Regions from separate parts of the Homo sapiens genome. Here all the other regions are linked to region 7. The links are contacts of gene promoters, found by promoter capture Hi-C in blood cells and fetal thymus (Javierre and others, 2016). All regions are on one chromosome and are shown on one strand. The core of a region is centred on a gene start or on the middle of the fragment in contact, and the rest is flanking DNA. Distances in the headings are between cores, read along the strand shown. Region 1 overlaps SPC25 (SPC25 component of NDC80 kinetochore complex). Region 2 overlaps CERS6 (ceramide synthase 6). Region 3 overlaps G6PC2 (glucose-6-phosphatase catalytic subunit 2). Region 4 overlaps ABCB11 (ATP binding cassette subfamily B member 11). Region 5 overlaps STK39 (serine/threonine kinase 39). Region 6 overlaps STK39 (serine/threonine kinase 39). Region 7 holds the start of CERS6 (ceramide synthase 6).

Evidence for each region. Contacts are between HindIII fragments. The CHiCAGO score rates a contact against its expected background, and 5 or more counts as called.
Region 1: a fragment that was not itself captured here is called in contact with the fragment with the promoter of CERS6 in region 7 in 3 of 17 cell types (fetal thymus, erythroblasts and naive B cells); the score reaches 6.5 in fetal thymus.
Region 2: a fragment that was not itself captured here is called in contact with the fragment with the promoter of CERS6 in region 7 in 10 of 17 cell types (non-activated CD4 T cells, naive CD4 T cells, naive CD8 T cells and 7 more); the score reaches 20.7 in non-activated CD4 T cells.
Region 3: a fragment that was not itself captured here is called in contact with the fragment with the promoter of CERS6 in region 7 in 4 of 17 cell types (erythroblasts, total CD4 T cells, naive B cells and 1 more); the score reaches 7.4 in erythroblasts.
Region 4: a fragment that was not itself captured here is called in contact with the fragment with the promoter of CERS6 in region 7 in 2 of 17 cell types (megakaryocytes and erythroblasts); the score reaches 8.5 in megakaryocytes.
Region 5: a contact is called between a fragment that was not itself captured here and the fragment with the promoter of CERS6 in region 7, in 2 of 17 cell types (total CD4 T cells and activated CD4 T cells). The highest score is 5.8, in total CD4 T cells.
Region 6: a fragment that was not itself captured here is called in contact with the fragment with the promoter of CERS6 in region 7 in 1 of 17 cell types (naive B cells); the score reaches 5.1 in naive B cells.

The regions. Positions count from the first base shown.
Region 1 is chr2:168,879,685-168,882,623 of GRCh38, forward strand. The region is part of intron 3 of SPC25 (SPC25 component of NDC80 kinetochore complex); the gene reads right to left. Among named protein-coding and RNA genes, the nearest start is that of SPC25, 9.3 kb to the right of the region's middle. The HindIII fragment of the contact is 1,387 bases long and covers 974-2,360 here.
Region 2 is chr2:168,746,703-168,749,802 of GRCh38, forward strand. The region is part of intron 8 of CERS6 (ceramide synthase 6); the gene reads left to right. Among named protein-coding and RNA genes, the nearest start is that of CERS6-AS1, 38 kb to the right of the region's middle. The HindIII fragment of the contact is 6,559 bases long and covers 1-3,100 here.
Region 3 is chr2:168,908,388-168,911,567 of GRCh38, forward strand. It overlaps G6PC2 (glucose-6-phosphatase catalytic subunit 2), which reads left to right. Exons shown (of 5, transcript NM_021176.3): 5 at 1-1,613. Among named protein-coding and RNA genes, the nearest start is that of G6PC2, 8.7 kb to the left of the region's middle. RefSeq lists an enhancer at 1-351. The HindIII fragment of the contact is 5,946 bases long and covers 1-3,180 here.
Region 4 is chr2:168,925,364-168,928,563 of GRCh38, forward strand. It overlaps ABCB11 (ATP binding cassette subfamily B member 11), which reads right to left. Exons shown (of 28, transcript NM_003742.4): 26 at 1,793-1,999. Among named protein-coding and RNA genes, the nearest start is that of G6PC2, 26 kb to the left of the region's middle. The HindIII fragment of the contact is 1,259 bases long and covers 1,127-2,385 here.
Region 5 is chr2:168,137,409-168,140,367 of GRCh38, forward strand. It overlaps STK39 (serine/threonine kinase 39), which reads right to left. Exons shown (of 18, transcript NM_013233.3): 7 at 2,881-2,959; 8 at 680-813. Among named protein-coding and RNA genes, the nearest start is that of STK39, 110 kb to the right of the region's middle. The HindIII fragment of the contact is 2,059 bases long and covers 626-2,684 here.
Region 6 is chr2:168,041,233-168,044,518 of GRCh38, forward strand. The region is part of intron 14 of STK39 (serine/threonine kinase 39); the gene reads right to left. Among named protein-coding and RNA genes, the nearest start is that of B3GALT1-AS1, 100 kb to the left of the region's middle. The HindIII fragment of the contact is 2,492 bases long and covers 757-3,248 here.
Region 7 is chr2:168,454,848-168,458,191 of GRCh38, forward strand. It overlaps CERS6 (ceramide synthase 6), which reads left to right and starts at 1,425. Exons shown (of 10, transcript NM_203463.3): 1 at 1,425-1,771. The coding sequence starts at 1,602. It overlaps LOC102724081 (a long non-coding RNA gene), which reads right to left. Exons shown (of 4, transcript XR_002959433.2): 1 at 2,184-3,344. RefSeq lists silencers at 1,017-1,236, 1,267-1,356, 1,477-1,606, 2,057-2,116. The HindIII fragment of the contact is 1,842 bases long and covers 1,029-2,870 here.

The DNA of each region.
Region 1 (2,939 bases), core at 417-2,916, 430 kb after region 7:
TGAATCCTTTCTCTGGAAGGTTTTCAATTTATTTTGCCCAGATCTATCAGAGTTAATCACTATTTGGGTAGCTATAACCTTATTTCTTAAATAATGAGACATGAAAGTCAAAACTACCCCTTGATCCATGGGCTGCAGAATGGATGTTGTCTTAGTAGGCATGAAAACAACACTAATCTCCATCAGCGCTCTTGAGTGACCAGATGCACTGTTAATGAGCAGAAATATTTTGAAAGCCATCTTTTTTCCTGAGTAGAAGGCCTCAACAGTGGGCCTAAAATATTCAGTAAACTATGCTATACACACATGTGCTGTCATCTAGGCTTTGCTATTCCATTTATAGAACATAGGCAGAGTAGATTTAGTATAATTCTTAAGGGCCCTAGGATTTGGGGAATGGCAAGTGAGCACAGGCTTCAACTTAAAGTCACCAGGTGCATTAGTCACTAAAGAGTCAGCCTGTCTTTGAAGCTTCAAAGCAGGCCTTGACTTCTCTCTAGCTATGAAAGTCCTAGATGGCATCTTCTTCCAATAGAAAACTGCTTTTTCATCTACATCAAAAATCCGTTCTTTAATGATCTGTTCATTCAATGATCTTAGCTAGATAACTTGCTGTAGCTTCTACATTAGCACTTCTGCTTCATCTTGCATTTTTATTTTATGGAGGCAGCTGCTTTCCTTAAACCTCAAGAACCAACTTCTGCTAGCTTCAAACTTTTCTTCTGAAACTTCCTCATCTTTCTCAAGCCTTCACAGAATTGAAGAGGGCTAGAGTCTTACCCTGAATTAGGCTTTTGCTTAAGGGAATGTTGTGGTTTGTTTGCTCTTCTATTAAGGCCACTAAAATTTTCTCTAACAATAAGGCTGTTTCTCTTTCTTATCATTCGTGTGTTCACTGAATTAGCACTTTTGCTAATTGGCGCAAGAGGCCAAGCTTTCAGCCTATCTCAGCTTTTGACACACTTTCCCACTAAGCTTAATCATTTCTAGCTTTTGATTTAAAGTGAGAGACCTATGACTCCTTCTTTCAGTTGAACAATTAGAGGTCACTATAGGGTTATTAATTGGCCTAATTTCAATACTGGAGACTAGGGAGGCCCAAGGAGAGGAAGAATGACAGGAATGGCTGGTCAGCAGAGCAGTCAGAAGTCATTCAACATTTATCCATTAAGTTTGTCATCTTATATGGGTGTCATTCATGGCACTTAAAACAATTACAATAGTAACGTCAAAGATCACTGATCATAGAGCACCACAAGAAATATAATAATGACAAGTTTGAAATCTTGTGAGAATTACCAACATGTGACAGATACGAAGTCACCACATGCTGATGGAAAAATGGTGCCCACAGACTTGCTTGACACATGGTTGCCATTAACCTTTAATTTGTAAAAATTGCAATATCTGTAAAGTGCAATAAAGTGAAGTGCAATAAAACAAGGTATCCATGTACCAAAATACTGGCCTTTTACATCTGTCTCACATATTGGCCAGCACCTCATTACTCCTTCTTGGCTTTAATCTCTCTACCTTCCCTGCCTTCCCCATGTCCCTGTCACTCTCTGTACAAGTTCTTCTTGCCCTAGCCCTCTTAAACACTCAGCTTCTGCAACTACCCACCCCTTTCTCACACACATGCTCAAAATAAAAACAACAATGCCTGTGCATAAACCTGGCCAAACCTCTCTGCTGGGAAAGGAGTAACCCTGGCAGGACCACTTCTTCCTCTGTTTGTTGGAAGAAAGATACAACCGCTGCTACTTGGGGCCCATTGCACAGAGATGGTGTCCCCAAAATGCCAATCAGGGGGCTAGACAAAGCAGGAAGGCACAAAAAGCATAAGAGCTCTAGGGCAGAGGCTACTGAGGTCAAATAAGCAGAGCCAGTAGAGCTCAAGTGGTGCTTTATAATGTGCTTATGAATTTCTGAATTAAAGATTTAGTTTTACTAATACTTAAATGAAATCTAAACACTTTAAAATCGAATGCCAATTAATGCCAGTAGTCTAGAATTGTATCAAATAAACCAAACTATCTATACTGTCATTTAATTCCAGTATCATAATTACAAGTAAATATGTGCTCCAAGGATGAGTAATCTTTTTCTCAAAGTTAAACAAGTTAGTCCATCACTGAATTTATGAAGACTTTAAATACCATAAATCTTCAAAAGAGAAATACACTATGATATGTTTCCCAAATTGAAGTGAGCATGGAATTCTCAGTGCTTGAACAACATCTCTCAAGACAAGCATTCCTCAGGCAACAGGAAAATCTCGTTTACAGAGGTAACAAACAGAAAATTCAGAATCAACCTAGATCAAGAAATATGTAGGCTCTGTTTGAAAAAAACTGCAAAGCTTGTCTGAGACACATATTTGATCTGGATATATGAAGAGATATTTTATGCTTCTAAATATTATAAAAGATATGCCAAACAAACGTTGGCAGTTAGGAAGTTAATATGATAAATGAAATATCAAATCAATGTTCAAGAGGTAGATTATTCTCTAAACAGTGCCGAAATCCAAAATAAATTCTTTAGTCTTTTACTACTTTTTTAAAAGAAGAGGAAAAACACTCAGCAGTTCAGTAACTTGCCCAAAGCTGTATTTGCTAGGCTAAAATAAATAATAAGGGCCAGGCATGGCGGCTCACGCCTGTAATCCCTGCACTTTGCAACGCTCAGGCTGGCGGATCATGAGGTCAGGAGATCGAGACCATCCTGGCCAACATGGTGAAACCTCGTCTCTGCTAAAAATACAAAAATGAGCTGGGCGTGGTGGCGTGTGCCTGTAATTCCAGCTACTAGGGAGGCTGAGGCAGAATAGCTTGAACCAGGGAGTCGGAGGTTGCAGTGAGCTGCGATCACGCCACTGCACTCCAGCCTGGTGACAGGGCGAGACCCTGTCTCAAAAATAAATAAATAAATAAATA
Region 2 (3,100 bases), core at 182-2,681, 290 kb after region 7:
CAGCTTCCCCTCTTCTGCACCTGAGAGTTGAACACAAGTAGCTATTTCCAAACTGATTTAAAAGGGTAAAGGGTATATATATATATATATATATATATATATATATATATATATATATAAAATCATCTTTGAAAAAATGATTATATGCATTTATATAGATTTAAAGTATGTTATTTTCTCTAATTATAAGAATACATACTCATTAGAGAACATTTGGAAAATGTAGAAAACATTTTAAATCCCTGGAATCAGAAGTACCTAGTGTTAATTACCATTTTGGCATATGTTCATTTAATCGCACTTTAAATCATGTTTTATACATATGTGTGTAAAATGTCTAAAGGAAAATTGGAGATTATACTGTACGTAATTTTTAATCTAGCCTAGGCAACATAGCAAGACCTCGTCTCTATTAAAAATAAAAGTTAAAAAAATTAACCGAGCATGATGGTGCATGCCTATGGTCCCAGTTACTCAGGAGGCTGAGGTTGGAAGATCGCTTGAGCCCAGGAGGTGGAGGATTCAGTGAGCCATGATTGCACCACTGCACTCCATCCTGGGCAATGGAGTGAGACCCTGTCTCAACAAATTTTTTTTTTTTTTTAATCTTTTGTCACTTTTCATTAAGTTGTGAGAATGTTCTCATGTCACTAGATAAAAGACATGATTTTAATGTATGAATAATGTTCTACCACTATAGATATGGATTTTTAATCATTTTTTAAAACCATTAGAAATAGTATTGAGAAAGCATTCTTGAACTTAAATCTTTGTTGGTAACCTTTATTTCTTAAAAGATAGATAACCGTAAAAGTGACTTTGAAGGTAGAGAGTTATTTTAAGATATTCTGGATATATATAGCCAAATTATTTTCTATGAAGATTTCAGCTACTTGTACCCTGACAAACTATGTATTTGAGTGGTTTCATTTTATTTTTTGATAACACAGTGTTTTCTCTTTTTTATGTATATTTGATCATATAGTTTAAATATTATCTCTTTTAATTATTAGTTTCAACATTTTCAAACCCACAGAAAATTTGAAAAAATACAGTAAATATGCATATACCCCCAGTTGCACTCACCGTTAGCCCTTATGATACCAATAGCACTTCCTACACACGCTCACACATAAACACACACACACACACACGCATTTGCCAAATTATCTGAAATTAGGCTGCAGATATCATGACAGTTCAGCCCAAAGACTTCAACATGCATGTATCCTGTTTTACTTTGTATTTATTGGATTATTAATATGGGAGAACATTTTGTTCATGTTTTCATAAGCCAGTTGTATTTCTTCTGATTCTTTGCCCACTTTTCTCTTTGAATATGTTGTGATTTTCTCATCAAAATCTGTGATATCTGTGAGTGAAAGCTGCATCAGATGCTACCCAGATGCCACCTAACCTTCTGACAAGGAGCTAGGCCCTGTACACTCAGATGGCCAATGGTGTGTAGGATAAATTTCCTCTCCAATTTAAGGTATGGCCTTGGCTATTGCTCTTTCTGCAGTGAGAGTAGAAGTCTTACCTTCAGCTTGTTGACTGTAACCATTTTATTTATGATCAGGGACTATGGAAATAAGTAATTAACATTGAATGGATAAGCACAGTTAAACTCAGTATAACTGGTGGAAACACAAGAGAGTGCCTTGTCCTGTTAGTTAAATAATTTTTTAAAATTTATTTTTAGATGAAACCCCCTGAGATTCTGTATACTGTCTTTTGAGTATTGGAAAAATAATTTTTACTAAATAAAACCACCATCTCTAAAGCCACAACTTGGAAGTGTTTGCAGTGATTTCTGCAAAAGAACTCATTGTGGTCCTACTCCTGAACCTGCACGCCCCCACCGAATGGCTGGCCTGGGGACTGCTTCAGTCAAATTGTGTTTGTATTTCTTTCTTCCTCAGTAAAGCGTTGTGTGTGCCTGTCCAAGGCTTGCCAGCAAATTGGTCACATCAGGCAGATTTCCAGCCTGGCAGTTACAGGTGGAAAAGGCTTTCAGATCTCAGGCTCTGAGTTTTGCACAGGGACTTCCCTCTCCCAAGGTCTACGGCACATCTATTTGTCTTTTTATTAGTATAACATTTAATCCCAGAAATGGCGTGGTTGGGGGTGGGGGGGGGGCAGGTATTAAATGCCATGCTGAGTTTGTGCAAGGCCTGCTCTTGGTTCACAGTATAGGCACCTGCAGTGCCCCAGGGAAGCAGATCTCTTGTGTCCTTTCTGTCTGCCCTTTTCCCACCCCCTGATTCCTGCCTCCCCCATCCCTTCCTCCCCCTCTGTCTTACCATTTCCTCCTTTCCCCAAAAGACAAGGTTTGAGGTATTGTACCCATCATTTCCAGAAGCACTCTCTCTCCTATATCTTCCAAAATTATGACATAAGAAAGTAACAGAAGAGTGCAGAACCCAGGCAGATTTCACAGTCCCTAGGCAGCTATTAAGCTCTAAATATCAGGCATCTTGACAAAGACAGCTCCAAACTTGCCAACAAACCCACATTCCAGGGGCAAAGGATATCAAATATCATACTATTTGTTTAAGTTGACCCCTCTTCGCTATCTGAATCCCCACACTCATAACCATGGATGAATCTGAGTGCTGCTTCTTTTGTTCAGACGGAATTTAAAAATCAGTTTTAGAGTGAGAAATGCGCAAGCCCATCCCATATAGGCAGGTCCTTTTCCCCAACAGGTATGCCCTCCTTTTCCCTGGCCTCCTGTCTTCTCAGCACTTCCAGGGAGCCACATGCTCACTGAGAGCTGTCTCCACCCCTTATTCAACGCACCTAAAACTTGACAGTCTGAGCAGATGGGGGAAGTAGAGTGATTCCAGCAACTGTCTCCTTTTCTGGAGCAGGAAGCTGGGACTGTGGCTAAGTGAGGCTGCCCTTCTGCAGCTCTGAGAATATGGTAGCGTGCGCTACCATGCCTAGCTAATTTTTTATTTTTTGTAGAGACGGGGTCTTGCTGTGATACCTCGACTTAGGAGAGTTGGCTTTCTGGAAACTCACCTGATGCAGGGCAGGTGAGCCCCAAAGTGAGGCTTAGTCCACAAGGCTTCTTGGCTTTGCCCAGGAAAAAAAT
Region 3 (3,180 bases), core at 154-2,653, 450 kb after region 7:
ACTAACAGTCCCCAGTAGGAGGCAAGGACTCCATTTTCTCACAGTCTTCAGCATCCCAGCAGGAGCCCCACTATGATTCCTTTATCTTCTTAAGGCCAGGCTGCATCTGATTCCTGTTGACATTTTAGTGGGGACCACAGCCATATCCAGTTTCAGTTTTCAGATGAGGAAATGGAAGCCTATTTAGGTAAAAGAACTTGCCTGGAGTCACGCCACCTTCAGAGCAGGAATTAGAACCCAAGGCTTCTGACACATATCCCCATTACACTGTGTGTTTGAGTGTGCACACATGCACATGCTTTTTGTTTGTATGTTTCCTTTTTAGAACCAGGGACTTGCTCTGTTGCCCAGGCTGGAGTGCAGTGGTGGATAGCGGCTCACTGCAGCCTCAAACTCCTGGCTCAAATGATCCTCCCTCCTCAGCCTCCCATTAGCTAAGACTACAGGTGTGCACCACCATGCCTGGCTAATTTTTGAATATTTTTTAGAGCCAGCTTCTTACTATATTTGCCCAGGCTGGTCTTGAACTCCTGGCCTCAAGGAGTTCCCTTGAGGATGTTCCACCCATGTCAGCCTCCCACAGTGCTGGGATTGCAGGCTTGAGCCATTGTATTAATAGTTGGCCTACACTGTCTTTTGTTTCTTCATTTACAAGAGGTAAAAATCAGTAAGAATGAATGCTTTCATTTAGATTCTATGATGACTGCCATATAAATCAGCTACCTTTTCAGAAATGACATTGAAATACTGCATCCTCTTTGACTTATACCCCACACATACATGCAGGGTCTAGGTGGGACCAACAGTGGCTCCAGATGTATATACACACGGGTCCAGGGACAACAGAACAGGCCAGGCTACAGTATGGACTTGAACCTCTGCTTCACTTCTGGTCTCTGTTTTACAGTAGTGCTCACCAATATTTCAATAAATTCTACTGAACTTACTCTAATAGAACATTATTCAACCCCCAAAGACTTATCTCTTCACTATGACATCTCCATACTTTATTTTTAGGAGACAGACTTTCAAAACCAGAGAAATCAGGTGCCTTCCTCAAGGTCATGCTCCAACCCAGGCCAACTATTAAATGCTTGCATCTGTTAGCTGGATTAGTCTCTATGTATACTGAACTGTGATGAAAATCTATAGCTTTGTTTTAGAAAATTATTGTTGATGGACTATTAATATTATATTAACAATTTCTCAGTAAGTGTGTTTTTTCCTCATTGAATCTAGGAATGCTGGGCTTTAAGTTGATAACTGTGTCATTTCAATCAAGTACAAGGATTTTGAGGCAGATTTTGCTAGATATCTTAGTAATCCCCCACAATGTTTTATGTAACTCTTCTCAGAATATCAATACATTAATTATTTTAGATGACATATTAAATAATCTATGAATATTAATGAAAACAATACAGTTGAAGTGAGTGTTGTTTAACATGATAGTAGCTGAGGATAACAAACCTCAAAAAATCAAAGTATTAATTACTCCTTTCCAAGTATATGTATAGAGCATGTGTCATTGCTTTTATAAAACGCACTTAATAGCTTTCTTTCTAAAAGGCAACTGAACTTTCTAAAAGGTAAATAAACTGAACTTGATATTAGTGGTTCGGTGATTCCAAAGCAAAAAGCTGAGGGATTAAGAAAGAATAGCTTAAGAATGAAATTTGTCTCATGTTGCTGGGACATTTGGGATGAAAGAAGTAGAGAAGAATGATTCTTCAGGTGATGACCGTTGCTCATTGGTTCAGTCCCACCCTATGTCCCACCATGCTGTACCTTTAGATGCCTTCACATTTCATGATACATTTGTGTCATTACATCTTCCACACATCAGAGATCTCATTCCTGTCTAAAAGCCCTTTGCCAAATTTCACATAAGATAATGTTAGTCTTGAAGGATTCTGGTACATCCCCTTCATCCTAGTACAATCTCAGCCTGCTTTCAGCAAGGCCTGAGGAAACCGGCATTAATAGCCAGGGAATTCTGCAGCAATGATTGACTCTACCATAAATCCGTTCTCCGTTTCCATGGAGAAAGCTATCTTCAGCCACCCCATGGTGCTGTCTGTTGGGCAACACATTACCCTCAGAGGGGACTGGGATGAAGTGTGGGCTTGTTTTCTATAATTAATCCCCAAGAACTCTGCCCCTATCTTCCATAAAAACCCCAGAGTCCCCATGGGAGTAGATTTCCCTCTTTATTCTAGTTGAAGTCTCCTGGAGGGATCCATATGGTGGTAAATTGTTTTTGCAATTGAAACGCCTTAGGCAGCAAGAGGAATCGTTTTTCACAGCCTTGGAGAAAATGCCTGCCCTTAATAATGATGGAAAAGACTCTTCTGTTTCCAATTTATTTGTCAGAAGTAAGTGGAATTGAGCTCATTAAATACTGTTACTATAACCATATATTCAAAATGTCTACCTATCTACATATTCAGGAGAAAAATGTCAATACCATGAGCTTTTAGGATGAGAAAATCTAGACAAGAAAATCTGACTCAAGAGAAAATCTGACTCAAGAAACTGTCCAATCAAACCTACATTTGGAAAAAAAATACAAAATAATTTATTATTGCTGAAACTAGCTATCAGGAAGAATATTAGTTCCTTTCCTTTGACAACCTATTGATTGGACATCTGCCTAAGAAGGTTAAGTTGGTGCCTTCTTTAGACATATTTCATTATAAAACAGATGGTGATTAAAAGAATTGTTATAAGATGTCCTTGAAACTAAAAGTCAAATGTTGAAATGCTTTACATTTTTTCAAAATTTTTAAATAAATTCAAGATCAAATTGGTACATACATACAAAAATCTTGGTTTAAGAAAAAGTCAAGTGACTTGGTTCTAAAAATGAGATTCTTTTCTTAAGTATTTTAAAACTGTATATTCCAGCACTCTTCAATTGAACTTTTACAGTGATGGAGATGTTCTCTATCTGTGCTGTCCAATATAGTAGCCACTGGCCACAGATGTTTATTGAGCTCTTGAAATGTAGCTGATGCAACTGAGGAAGTGCATTTTTTTTTTTTTTGAGACGGAGTCTCGCTCTGTTGCCCAGGCTGGAGTGCAGTGGCGCGATCTCGGTTCACTGCAAGCTCTGCCTCCTGGGTTCATGCCATTCTCCTGCCTCAGCCTCCGGAGTAGCTGGGACTATAGGCACCTGCC
Region 4 (3,200 bases), core at 506-3,005, 470 kb after region 7:
TTATTGTGAGTTTTAGAGAAAATTAGGAAGAAAAAATCACTCATGCCTGGCATGGCTACATAAAAATTAGTTAACATTCATAGAGTGTTTACCATAGAGGTATTGTGCTAACTATTCTAGCTAGGGTATCATTTAATATTCACAGAAACCATACCCACACTATTTTTTAGATTACAAAACTTAGGCACAGGGAGGTAAGAAAATGGTGCGAGGACAAGTAACAAGCAGTGAAAGTGAAATCTGAATCCAGATGAAAGTGAATCTTGCTCTCCTCTAAGTCCTTGCCTTGACTACTTCTCTTCCTTGCCTTCCACAACACGAGCTGTTTCCTTTCCCTGCTTCCCTTGCCTCCTGAGGAATGCTCCTTTAAGCCAGGTGAGACCCATGAAAACCTGCTTTGTCTTTGTGGAGACAAAGTGCTCAGAGAAGGGTGCCACGGGCAAGTCTGTATGAGGACAATGCAGTAAACCAGCTCCATGACAGTGCCTTGCCCAACATGAGTAGCTATTCAATAAGGGTTTGTGGGATAAATGAATCTTCCAGGAGACACACAATCTTTGCTTTTGATCTCTGGATTCAGCAAATAGTAATTTCCATGTGCTTATAGATTGGGCTAACAGGTAAGAACTGGGCCAAGAGCCTAAAACTTAGGAGACTTTGTGAAAAGAGCAAACAAAAAGCCTTCCACAAACCCACAAAATTTATAAACATAATCACTTATAAAGAAAAACAATTTTCCCAGGGATATTTTTAAAAAGTAAGTAGAGAAGGTTAAAGGTAAAATTTGGCCCTACAATTTGGTTTCCATGTTGTAATTTTTCTTGTGATCAAAACTAAGAGGGACTTTTGGTGGATGGAAAAATGCAGAGTCAATATTGCGCGAAATCTGGACTTGGGTTTGGCAAAGTAAGAGACAGTAAGGCAGGTGTAACTTACCCACCACCCACGGTACACATTGCCAAGTAATGAAATAATGATGATGGCAGTAATACCAGTGGCCGCTTTCATTGTGTGGCTATTAAGTGTGTTTTCTTCATTTTAACGTTATTTTCTTGCATTTTGCAGATGAAATAGACAATCTCAGAAAGGATAATTGTCCCAAAGCTATGAAGCTACTAAGTGGCAAAGCTTGGATGCAAGCCCAGGTCAGCTCCAAATCTCAGGTGTTTCCCCACTATGCTAAACTAAAGCTCAATGTACAAAAAAATTCAACAAAAATAGCATCCATTGCATTGGGCAATACAATACTTTCCAAAATTAAAGAGTATGTTGATGAAGGATATTTCTTTTGCTTAAAAAACTAAGACAGTCCAGGGGCACTGTGAAATAAATTGCATATCCTTTGACCTTCTAGAGCCACAATCATAATACAGATTGAATATTTCTTATCAGAAATGCTTGGGACCAGAAACGTTTCAGATTCTGGATTTTTTCAGATTTTGGAATATCTGCATATAATGAGATACCCTGGGGATAGGACTCAAGTCTAACCACAAAATTCCTGTTTCTTATCTACTTTATACACATAGCCCAGAAGTAAATTCCTATAATATTTTTAATAATTTTGTACATGAAACAAAGTTTTGACTGCATTTTGACTGTGACCCATCACATGAGGTCAAGTGTGAAATTTTCCACCTGTGGAATCATGTTGGCATTCAAAAATTTTTGAATTTTGGAACATTTTGGATTTGGGATTTTCAGATTAGGGATGCTCAACCTGTACACTCTGGTCATTCTACTTCTCCCCATCCTTGTCTCTCATAGGGAATGGCTCTGACTTCGTACTCACCTCTGGGAGTGACATGACAAAATCATGCAGCTGAGCCTGTTTTGCAGCTGCTATGACTCTTTCCATGGGAATTTCTTTGGTGTTGTCTCCATACTTGATATTGTCCATTATGCTACAGGCAAACAACACTGGTTCCTGGGAAACAATTCCAATGTTTGAGCGGAGGAACTGGACATTTACTTTTTTGCTGTCATGACCATCTATCATCTGCCAATAGAGGAGATGACAGGTCATTAGGTTTTTAGAATTCCAGCAGTGAGGAAAGTTCATATTCTAGCATTAGGTGTTATGCAGGACATTTGGTTTGCTTAACAGACTAACAATCCCAAGGCTAAAATTATGGAATAAATTATGTTGCCTTTGACCTCTGGATGTAATGTCTATCAGGAGTGGCATCCATGTTAACACTAATCAGACTATGGTCCTATTTATTTCCTGAACTCTGGCTCTACAGGTGGGGCAAACGAGAAAGACGCTCAGGTATTCAGGTAAGAAACAACGTCCCCTTACTTTGGTGCAGCACACTCTCTACAAATATACAGGGTTGCTCTATTTTGAGACTCATGAGTTATGGAAAGGATTTTTCTCTGTGAAGCTTTTGGGCAATATAAGGGTCAAACCTGTTTTCTTGATTTTACTAACACCATTCTCTGCATAACTGAGATAATAAAACCAAGTAAAAAAGGAATACATTTATTCACTTAGTCAATCAACAAACATATATTTGAATCACCTGCCACAAAGCACCATCCTAAGCCATCTATGTCTGCTACGTAAAGAAAATATAATCTCTGTTTCCTAGGAACTCACAGTCTAGTTAGGCAGTTAAGTCCAGGTACTTGAATATCTACCACATGAGCTGATTCACTAAAGAGTCCTAGAATATTAAAGGCACAGATGCCTAACGTGCTACTATAAAGTATTTGGCCCTATTATTTCAGAAAAAAATTGTGATAAATGGTATGAACAGATTATATTTAAGATAATTTCTAAGTAATGGAAAAAGCAAACACTATTAGAAAAAATATAAAGCATTTCTCAATAACAATTAGCCCTGGCTTATCTTGCTCTACTCATTTTCCATAGCACTTAAGTCTGCAAAACACAATTTAATAATTAAACACTCAGGCTGTTTGCTCATTCTTCTAAATGTGCTACATTGTAAGCTCCTAGAAGGCAGAAGACATGCTTCATGGTCCTTAGACTCTCCCACAGGGACTCATGCAGTAACAGGCACATCATAGGTATCCAAATAAATGTTGAAAATATTGAACGCCTACATTTGGTAGATTAAGAGCAAAGAGGACTTTGAAAAAAAAACATAAAAAGTGGTAGGTTTTCTGCTTAAAATGTTTGTAGAAATGTTTTACGATGTTGTAACAAAATATACTGTGCCTATGAAATGCAA
Region 5 (2,959 bases), core at 405-2,904, 320 kb before region 7:
AGTGGGCTCCATGATCACTAACCAGGATATTTCAAAGTCACAGAAATTAAGAAGGAAGAAAAGGAACTCAGAAAACAGACACACTACAGTGCAGGGCAATAACCCAAGAATAAATAGGAAACACTAATGTTAATTTAAAGCCATTTGCTTCTGTTTACATGATTAATCTTTTTAAGGTAAAAAATCTCCTTAATCTTCTTTACTGATAATCTTTTAAACAGCACCAACAACTTGTTCTGCAACTAACAGGAAGCTCATGCAAAATTCAATAGCTCTGCCTAGTTTAGACTGGAGCTAGCAGGATATTCAAATCCTGAGAGGTCAGTTCAACCTACACAGTGAAGAATATTAGCTCAGCTTCTGAATGCAGCACTGCCAATTTCTTTTGATTTCTGTTTTACTTCATTTCCTTTGATGACAGAGCCCACACTTAACAAGCACAGTGAATCTTGTTAACACCACAATTTTTCCTCTGCCTCTCCTTCGTTCTTCACCCACTTCTTTCCCTCTTGGACCCACACCGTCTTTCACTAACAGGTTGGAAATCTGGGGACCACAGCAGGGTTTCCCAGACAAGAAATACCTTTCCAGTGTCCTCACAAAGCCTTTCCCCATCTACAAACAAAGCTTTGTCATGGCTCAAACCAGGTCATTAACTCATCCACTAAGTTTCACTTACCTTTTGGAAGGATCTTTCTGAAGACACAGTGAAAGTAATTTTCTAAAGGACTTGCCGTACTTTTTCATCATTTCTTTATCCTCTACCCCTGTTTCCAAAGTGGGTGGATCATTTTGCAAAGTCAACATTAACACCTGCAGCAGAAACAAACATGAAGACAGAATCTCAGTATAGCAATTGCTACAATCTAGTTTTGAATTTTTCATAAAAGTGTAAAAAACCATCCTTGATTAGATACAAAGTGCTTTCCCATGATTTTAACTTTGCAGAAATTGTGTATTTAAAGTATTCATTACCACTGCAAATGTGTTCATGCCCCCTTTAACCTTTTTGTTATTCCATTGACAGAACTTACAAAACTTGCTCTATGTGTTAAGAATGATCCCGGACAGAGCTTTCTGGGAACTGGCTCGTGTACTGCCTTGAGGAGCACGTAGCTCCAGCACAGGCTAGTTGGGAAAGCGGGTGGAGGAGAAGAGAGAGGGCCAGCGAGGCAGTGACTGTTCATGTATACAGGTCATTCATAAGTAAGGAACTGCCTGTACTCAAGGCTTCTGTAACACATTACTAGCCCTAAAAATAAAACCACAACATCCCAGGAGGTAACATGATTTCCTTTAAAAAAATGAGAAAACATACAGAAAATTGCTAAAAGGCTTGGCAAAGCTGAGAGAGCAGGACACTGAAGGATAGCCAGAATATAACTGAGTTGCTAAAAACTGTCATCAAATCCAAAGTCCTTGCTGCTTTCGGAGGGGGACAAAACAAAATAAAATACAACTTTAAATCAAAACGGTAAAAATTCCACTCTTTCATACTAACTTCAAAAGTATTTGCTTTAAAAAAAAAGTGGAAAGTGTAGAAAACTACTAGCCTGTACAATCAATAAAACTCATTAATGCATAATTCAGCCTTAATTTATGCAAATGCTATACATGTCAAGCCTCTTTTCAAACACTTTCAGATGTGTGAATAGATGAAGCGTGAAAGTGACGGCTTATTGTTTGTGGAGGATAATAGCCCACAGGAGAAAGCGGGAGACTGGGAACTCTGAAGAAAAGTCCTAGAGGACGTCAGGCTGGGACAAGCAAGTGCGACTTTGAATTCAGGTGGGAAACACTGAGAAGAGGCAAAAGAAAGAAAATGAAGAAAGAAAAACTGAATAAAAGAAAAAATCCTTCAGCATTACTTCAGTGCTTTTTCTCCAAGAGGTCACTTCAATTGTTTACGCTTCAATTTTAAATTTTCTGCTAGCAAAATCCGGTATATGTACCCACACACACACAAATACACTAAAATCCTAACTATGTTAAAAAAAATTTATATATATATATATAAAAACAATAAAATGAATTACACTGAAACCTTAGTAGAGATTGTCTGGTTGATGAGATTACGGATGATTGTTTTTCTTCTTTAGTCTGAGTTGCACATCCAAACTTTCTACAATATGAGTATACTACTTCTTTTAATCAGTAAAACTCACTTTTTATTCTTGGGTTTTTAAAATAAATCCTCCCAAATTTTTCCAGTAACCATGAAACAATCATAGACCATACTCTATGTAAAATAGCATTATAATTTCACTAAACTATTTCAGCCTCAAAACAAAATCCAGTTGGGTAAATAAGCCCTGATACCACTATCTCAGAACTAAGAGAAATAATGAGGTATAAACCAGTTAAAAGAAGAGCAGAAACGTGAAAATAGCATCCTAAAAACACTGTGGCTCACTTATATCAGATCAGTTGCCAACATTACACTATAAGAGCAGGGGTAAAAATGTTGTAGTCCACTTAAAAAGAAAGAAAAAAAAAAGCTCTGAAAATCTGGGAAACCCATTTGCAGAGATGACATCACTATAATCTATTTTGAGATATTCTCTGGGAACCTGGCGTTGTTCTGCTATCAAAAGAGTAATGACCAGCATTTGTCATAGCTATCAACCTCCATCAACCAATCTGATAACATTATTTTCTTAACTCTGTGCTGAGACTATAAAGCAAGCTTCAAAGCTGGGAATTATGCTACTTTTGTCCTATTCTGTCCACTGAGAAAATCAGACAATGTTCAACTTGGCTGCGTTCCTCCATTAATTCTCCTCGGGTCTAAGAGAAGAATGAAGATGTTGAAGAGAATTAGAAAACAGATTCCGTCCAATCACATTTCAACCCCGATGTAGTATTTCCAATTGTAATTACTTTCATGGGAGGATATTTGTGATAAGGCGCTGCTCCTGTTGCTAATTCAATGGCAGTTATTCCAAAACTCCACATGTCA
Region 6 (3,286 bases), core at 753-3,252, 410 kb before region 7:
TAAAGTCCAACTCTTGGAGAGGTATTAATAATATTATTCTATTTATTATTATAAAATATTATTATATTATTTAAAATAATAAAAGTTCCAAAGGATACACAAGGTTTATGGGAAAGGAAGCCATTGATCACACCTACTTGAAAAGTAATTTGCCCAGGCTAATATCACTTCTCCTATACTGTATGGTTTACAAGTATGCTGTCCACTGTATATTTGGGGAAAGAATTATTGGCTCTTTAAAAAAAAAAATGCATGATCTATCCCCAAAGTTCCTTCTCTACAGTATGTCTGCAAGTGGAGGCTCGTCTGTCTAAGTGACATCAGATTTTTGAATTTTCCAATGAGAATGGTAATGCTGCTAGTTACTCATCTGATCTGTAAACCTAAGAATTCCCTTCAGTCAACATACAGCAAATGGGTACTTTAGATGGTGGTCAGAACTCCTAACTTGGACTAACTGCTATTCTTTCCCTGCTAAAAACATTTCCTTAACTTTAAGCTCAAGATCTTCTCTCAGAGTTGATCAGTGGAAAGAAAACAGACCTGAACTTGGTTTAGGCTCTGAAGAAATTACTTTATGTTGTATGCTGTAATTCAATGAAGATAAGCCCTTGACTTCTAAGGAGTGTCAATCTAAGAAAAAATAACTCAAGAACATTTTTTGCAACAGTAGGTCAAGCTCTCTGCCATGTTATCCAAGGTTCTTTATAGAAAGAACCAAGAGATAAATTCCACTTGAATTTGGTATCAAGCAAAAGCTTGCCTCGCTATATAATCTTTTAATCCTATAGGTCTACTTTTGTCAAGAGAGGAGGACTAAATAGACAACTATAATTTCCTGGTTGCTAACAAGCTGAAGGCTAAATTTTCTTCTCAGTGATTGTAATTATATCACTCTGGGTTCCCTGCCCAATTCTCTTTCCACTCTCAAGATATTTTTAAAATCTCATTTTAGCTTCATTTTACTTCACCTACTTTATGCTTTCATACTGTAAGTCACCTTAAATCTTCTCTGGAACAAGGCAAGGTAAAAATAAATCATTCATTTATATCATGTGGTTACATCAATGCTTACTCAACTTTCAGTTCCTCTAAATATTTCTAGGGTATCTCTCTGTCCATCTCTCTACGGAAAAGCCCTCCCTTTAAAAATCATCTTCATACTCAACCTAACTTTCTACTGTTACTTTGTATATTAAAAACAACAAAGAGATAGGTTATGGCACAATTCCTATTTAAGTCCGGTTAGCCCAGTTCAAAGGTAGGGGTTACAATGGAGTCTGGGCATTCCTGGAAAAACAGTAACAACAGGTTTGAAGGATCTTAATTCTATCTTCCTTCCTTCTTTTTTTTTTTTTTTTTTCTTGAGATGGAGTCTCGCTCTGTCACCCAGGCTAGATTGCAGTGGCATGATCTTGGCTCACTGCAACCTCTGCCTCTTGGGTGCAAGCAGTTCTCTGCCTCAGCCTCCCGAGTAGCTGGGATTACAGGCGCCTGCCACCATGCTCAGCTAATTTTTGTATTTTTAGTAGAGATGGGGCTTCACCATCTTGGCCAGGCTGGTCTTGAACTCCTGACCTTGTGATCCACCCATCTTGGCCTCCCAAAGTGCTGGGATTATAGGAGTGAGCCACTGCACCCAGCCACCTTCCTTCTAATTTTGGAGCTTTGCAGGGTCCATAGATGGGTTTCTGGGGATCAGTAAACCTATCTAAACCACCTGCAAAATACTATGTAAATGTTAAATATGTATTTGGTAGGGGCAGGAGGGGGAAGCTACAGGCTTAATCTGAGTTTTTAGGTCCCTAACACCCACAGTTAAGAACTATTATCTACCTGGCCCCTCCGTCCCCACCGCCCAACTTTACCCAGTCAATCTTCAACTACCTGACTGACGGCTATGAATACAAAATACAGTTCAAAGCCCACCTTTTACTCAGCAATCAGAGTATGTTTTCCTTTATCATTTAACTTGGTTTATTCATTTTATACCCCCAGAACAGTGTCTGAAACAAAGGTCAATTCAACAAATGGAATTAATTAATCTGAGGTGTTCTATTTATTACTCATTGATGGCAAAAAAAAATCACTCATCAATAACTAATAGAGGCAAGTAATCTGGAGGCTGATGATTCCTAATTTTTAAATTGAAAATAAATACAAACCCCAGTAACAGAATCAATTAAGTGTGTATATACAGCAAAAAGGCAAACAAACAACCCCCAAAATGTAGTTAAACGATATTTCCCTACTTGATTAAATCATGTTGCAGCTGCTTCTAAATTTTAAAACACAGAAGCAATGCAAATGTGAATTTTCTCTGCAAATTCTCCTTGCAGGAGTGACACAGCAAAGAGGAATATAATAGGTTACAACTAACTCAGAAGTACAACACAGGCACAATTTCTGACCACCAACAAAGATGTAGGAGGCTGCTAACACAACCATAGCCCTTTCTCAATTCTTTTCCTGGTTTCTGACCTGAACTTTGTCATTAGCACATATTACTCTGTGAAGATTTTGATCATCTCACAATTTCTGACTTCGTACTTGCAGCAGCCTTATTATGTATGCTTCAAAGCTAGAGGATTTTAATTTCCATTTTTTATTTGCACTCAGGAGGCTGCAGATTATCCAGTATAGAAATTCCCTAGAGTGAGAATCTCTTTATATAAAATAATTCCCTACACTCGCAATTCTTTATATTAGAACAATAATAGATGTAGGCATTATTATTGAGGATTTAGCTAGAGGAAAGCAACCTCTCAAATAGAACAGCACTTTATCAAAATAATTATTATTCCTTTCTCTGGGGAGGTTGTGTGAAAGCCCTTGTTCATCTCTGCAACATGTTAAAATGTATCACTTTTATATGGCTCCTTTTTTTCATGAAGTAGGCAGCAGCACAAGTAAATAACAATAGCTGACTTTTGAGAGAAAGGGGAAGATCCTTGCAATACTGTTGAGTATATCACGGGTATTGTCACTTTAACAGCAGAGATAACCTCCCTTTAAGGTAACCTTAGACTTAATGGACCTTTCTACAGTTTCAACACCAATAACATAGTAGAGATTAGGATGGAAAAATAGATATATGGTCCTTTCCTTATCACTCAATATGCAACTTGAAGTCCAAGGCCACTACGATAAGTTTGGAGTCCTTAAACATGGTGATTTACTGAACATCATAAAGTCAATTCTAGCCTAAGAGAGGTTACTGGGCATCAGCTTGATTTGTCCTTAAAGTAAGCTTGATAAAATACTGAAATATGACCCAAAGACTGTT
Region 7 (3,344 bases), core at 175-2,674:
CCCTGCCTCCAGAACCGTGAGGAATAAATTCTGCTGTTTAAGCCACCTAGTCTAAGCAGCCTGGACTAAGATAAGAACTGACCTTTGTGTTTAGCAGCATGAAGATCACAGGTGACCTTGGGCAGTTTCAATGCAGCAGAGGAGACAAATGTCCAAATGGAAGTTCAAAAGAAAATGAGGGGAGAGAAATTGGAAGCACCAGTATAGGCCATTCTTCAGTTTCACTTTCAAGAGATAGAGTGGAAAGAGGGGAGGGAAGAGTAAAAGAAACTCCCTCTCTCTGTGTGTGTGTGTGTGTGTGTGTGTGCGGTTATATGCCCACTGGAAAGGTTTAGTATAGCCTACTGGCAGCACCAGGCAGAAAATGAATGTGAGAAAAATGAACAAAAATGCCCCAGAACCATGTATACATGGGCCATGGAATGAATTCACACATGGCTCCTGTATCAATGGGGAAATGCATTGCGGGAGGGAAGGTGCCTGGGTTAGGCCTCACAGGCCTAATGCCTTAAAGGTTTTAGATTCAAAAGGCAGAAATAATGAGCCTGCCGAGTAGCACAGTGGAGGTTCTCATGATGTGCCAGGTCAAAATGTGGTCTAGCAGCCTTTTCAGAGAGGTTAGTTGAGAGGGGTGGTTTTACAGAACGCTGCAGTTGCTATCATCATCATCATCATCATCATCATCGTCATCAAGTAGCAATTAATAATCAAATAGCAATTAAGTGCCTAATTTTTTGTACCACCTCATAAATCAATATAGGGGGGCTTGTTCCCTGGGGGAGCTACTTTGATGAGAAGCAGCAGTATAAAAGACCGGAAAGTCAAAGATTGGGGAAAGGCAGGCGTGGGGCAGAGGCAGAAGGCTCTTGCCAAACCATCCTGCCTCAGTTCCTGATTTTTCACCCTGCCTCTCCAAGCGCGGGAGTGGAGGATCCTTTCCCTCCCACTTCCTCCTTTGCTCTTTACCCCTCCCCCTCCCCCCCCCTTTTTTTTTTTTTGCTGTCCTCCTGGAGCAGGGCTGGTTCTGAAGCTTGGCGGCAGCCCCTACCTGCTGACCCACCGCCTCCGGGCGCACGGGAAGAGGACTGAGAGCCCTGAAACCCCAGCGGGGCAGGAGCCAGCATTCTGAGCATGTGCGAGCCAGCCAGGGGGCTAGGGCGGATTTGGGGGGTCGACTTTAGGTCGTCGCCCTAAGCGCAAAGCGAAAGAGCGGTGAGAGCAGGGGCGGGCGACACTCCCCGGAGCGGTGCCCCTGCGCCCAGGGCGCAGCGACTGCGCCCTGCCCTGCGGGTGTGGGCGAGTTGGCCGCGTGTGTGCCTCGCTGTTTGACGCGAAGACGAGCCAATCAGGGCGGGCGGCCCGAGCTGCCATGTGACGGGCAAGGCGGCCCCTTTCCCCAGCGCGGCCAGAGGGAGGAGAGAACCGGGGCTCGCCGCGAGCCTTCGAGAGCAGCGGCCGCGGAGGAGGCGGCGGCGGCGGGCGGGAGCAGCGGCGGCGGCGGCACAGGCTCGGGGCCAGCCGGGCGCGCATCCCCGGGCGCCCTGCGCGGTGGAGAGCTTGGCGGGCTGCGGGTGCCGCAGGACAGGAGTGGACAAAGCAAGATGGCAGGGATCTTAGCCTGGTTCTGGAACGAGAGGTTTTGGCTCCCGCACAATGTCACCTGGGCGGACCTGAAGAACACGGAGGAGGCCACCTTCCCGCAGGCTGAGGACCTCTATCTCGCTTTTCCCCTGGCCTTCTGTATCTTCATGGTGCGGCTCATCTTCGAGAGGTAAGAAGGGCTGAAGCCCCTCCTCCCCTCCCCCTGCGCACACACACGCGCGCACACACTCGCGCGCTCTCTGGCGCACGCCCCCGCGCCCCCAACGCTCGCGTTCACGCCTCCCAACCTTTGTGTTCGGGGAGGGGTTGCTGACCCCCCTGCCCCGCTGGCTTTCTGGGAGCCAGAAAGGGTCTGGCTTGCCACGGATTTCCTCCCGGGCGCCGGGGAGGAGCCGCGGAGCGTTAGGGTCGCCCCCTGCCCTCCTCCTGGGCCCTGCTCTCCTCCCGGCAAGGGCAGGCGAACAAAGGTGAGCGGTGGTCGGGCTCAGGACCCGCCGCATTCCGCGGGGCTCGCCCCTCTCCGCCGGCGCGCCACGCAAGGCTGCCAGGCAGGGCTTCCCGCCGGGGCCCGCGCCACCCACCTGACAGCCAGGAACGTTCCGGACGCGCGGCCCGGAGGGAGGAGGAACCGCGCACACTTCAATCTTTATGCTCCGGCACACGGATTGTAGGGGTTGTGCTTCAAAAGAATTCGCCAGGGACTTCCTGGCTTCTGGTCGCTGTTTGGTTTTTATCCGTGAAACTATCAGGCCCACAGTCCTGGCAAATAGGGGATAATAGCATTTCAGGTTATTAGCGGTTTCTTTAAAAGAGGATGTGACAGGACGGGTCCACATCCTGCAAAATGGTGATATTAAACTGATAACCCTGTCCTGTGAATAATCATAAACTTCTTTTTTGGTACTCGAAGGCACTTAAAATTTTGAGGAATTGTCATGCAATTGTATAGTTCCTCGGTTTGGTTGGATATCTCCATTGTGTCACATACAAACTTGTGTTATTCTCATGGAATTCGTTTTCGTCGCGAAACTAGATTGTGCCTGCCATGCATTCTCTGGGTGCTACTGAAAGAAAACCAGGACAGCAGCACACTTTTTTTTTCGTAACAGAAAATATTATCTTCCCCTTTCTTGTACCCTCCCCTTCCTCTGCCCAATTCATCAGTAAAGGCTGAATTTCTTAGATCACAAAGTAGAGTTTAGATTGCATTTCTCGCTTCCACTCCGCCTTTCTTCCCCGCCTTCAACTCACCTTGGTTTTGTTTCTTAAGCTTTTGCTGGTACCTCATTTGCTGTTCCTCTTTGCCTGAAAACGACTGTTGAGGGTGGCAGAACGCGTCTTTTGAGTCATTTGCTGCTGGACGAGGCAACAAAGCTTCATGGGGACAAAAAGTATCTTTTGTCTCAGGAAGGTATATTTTTCACCGGACAGTATTGTTGCTTGAAAACGAAGTCAGCTGTTCGCCTGCAGAAATTGACATGCACAAAGCAACAGACTTTAAGACCTATGTTTAAATTATTGGAATCTAATACAGATGTGTCATTGATCCTATACAAAAAAGGATCAAAAAAGTCACAGCAGTGCTGTGAAAAAATGGGTGTGTTTGCAGGTGTAGAGTTACCTCTAGAGCAAATGTTTGGTTACAGAAAATATGAACTCTATACAGTTTTGCAGGCTCTCCAAAAACAAGCAGACTCAGGGATAGCAGGTTTGCTCTATGTTGGCACATAGTAGGGGATCTA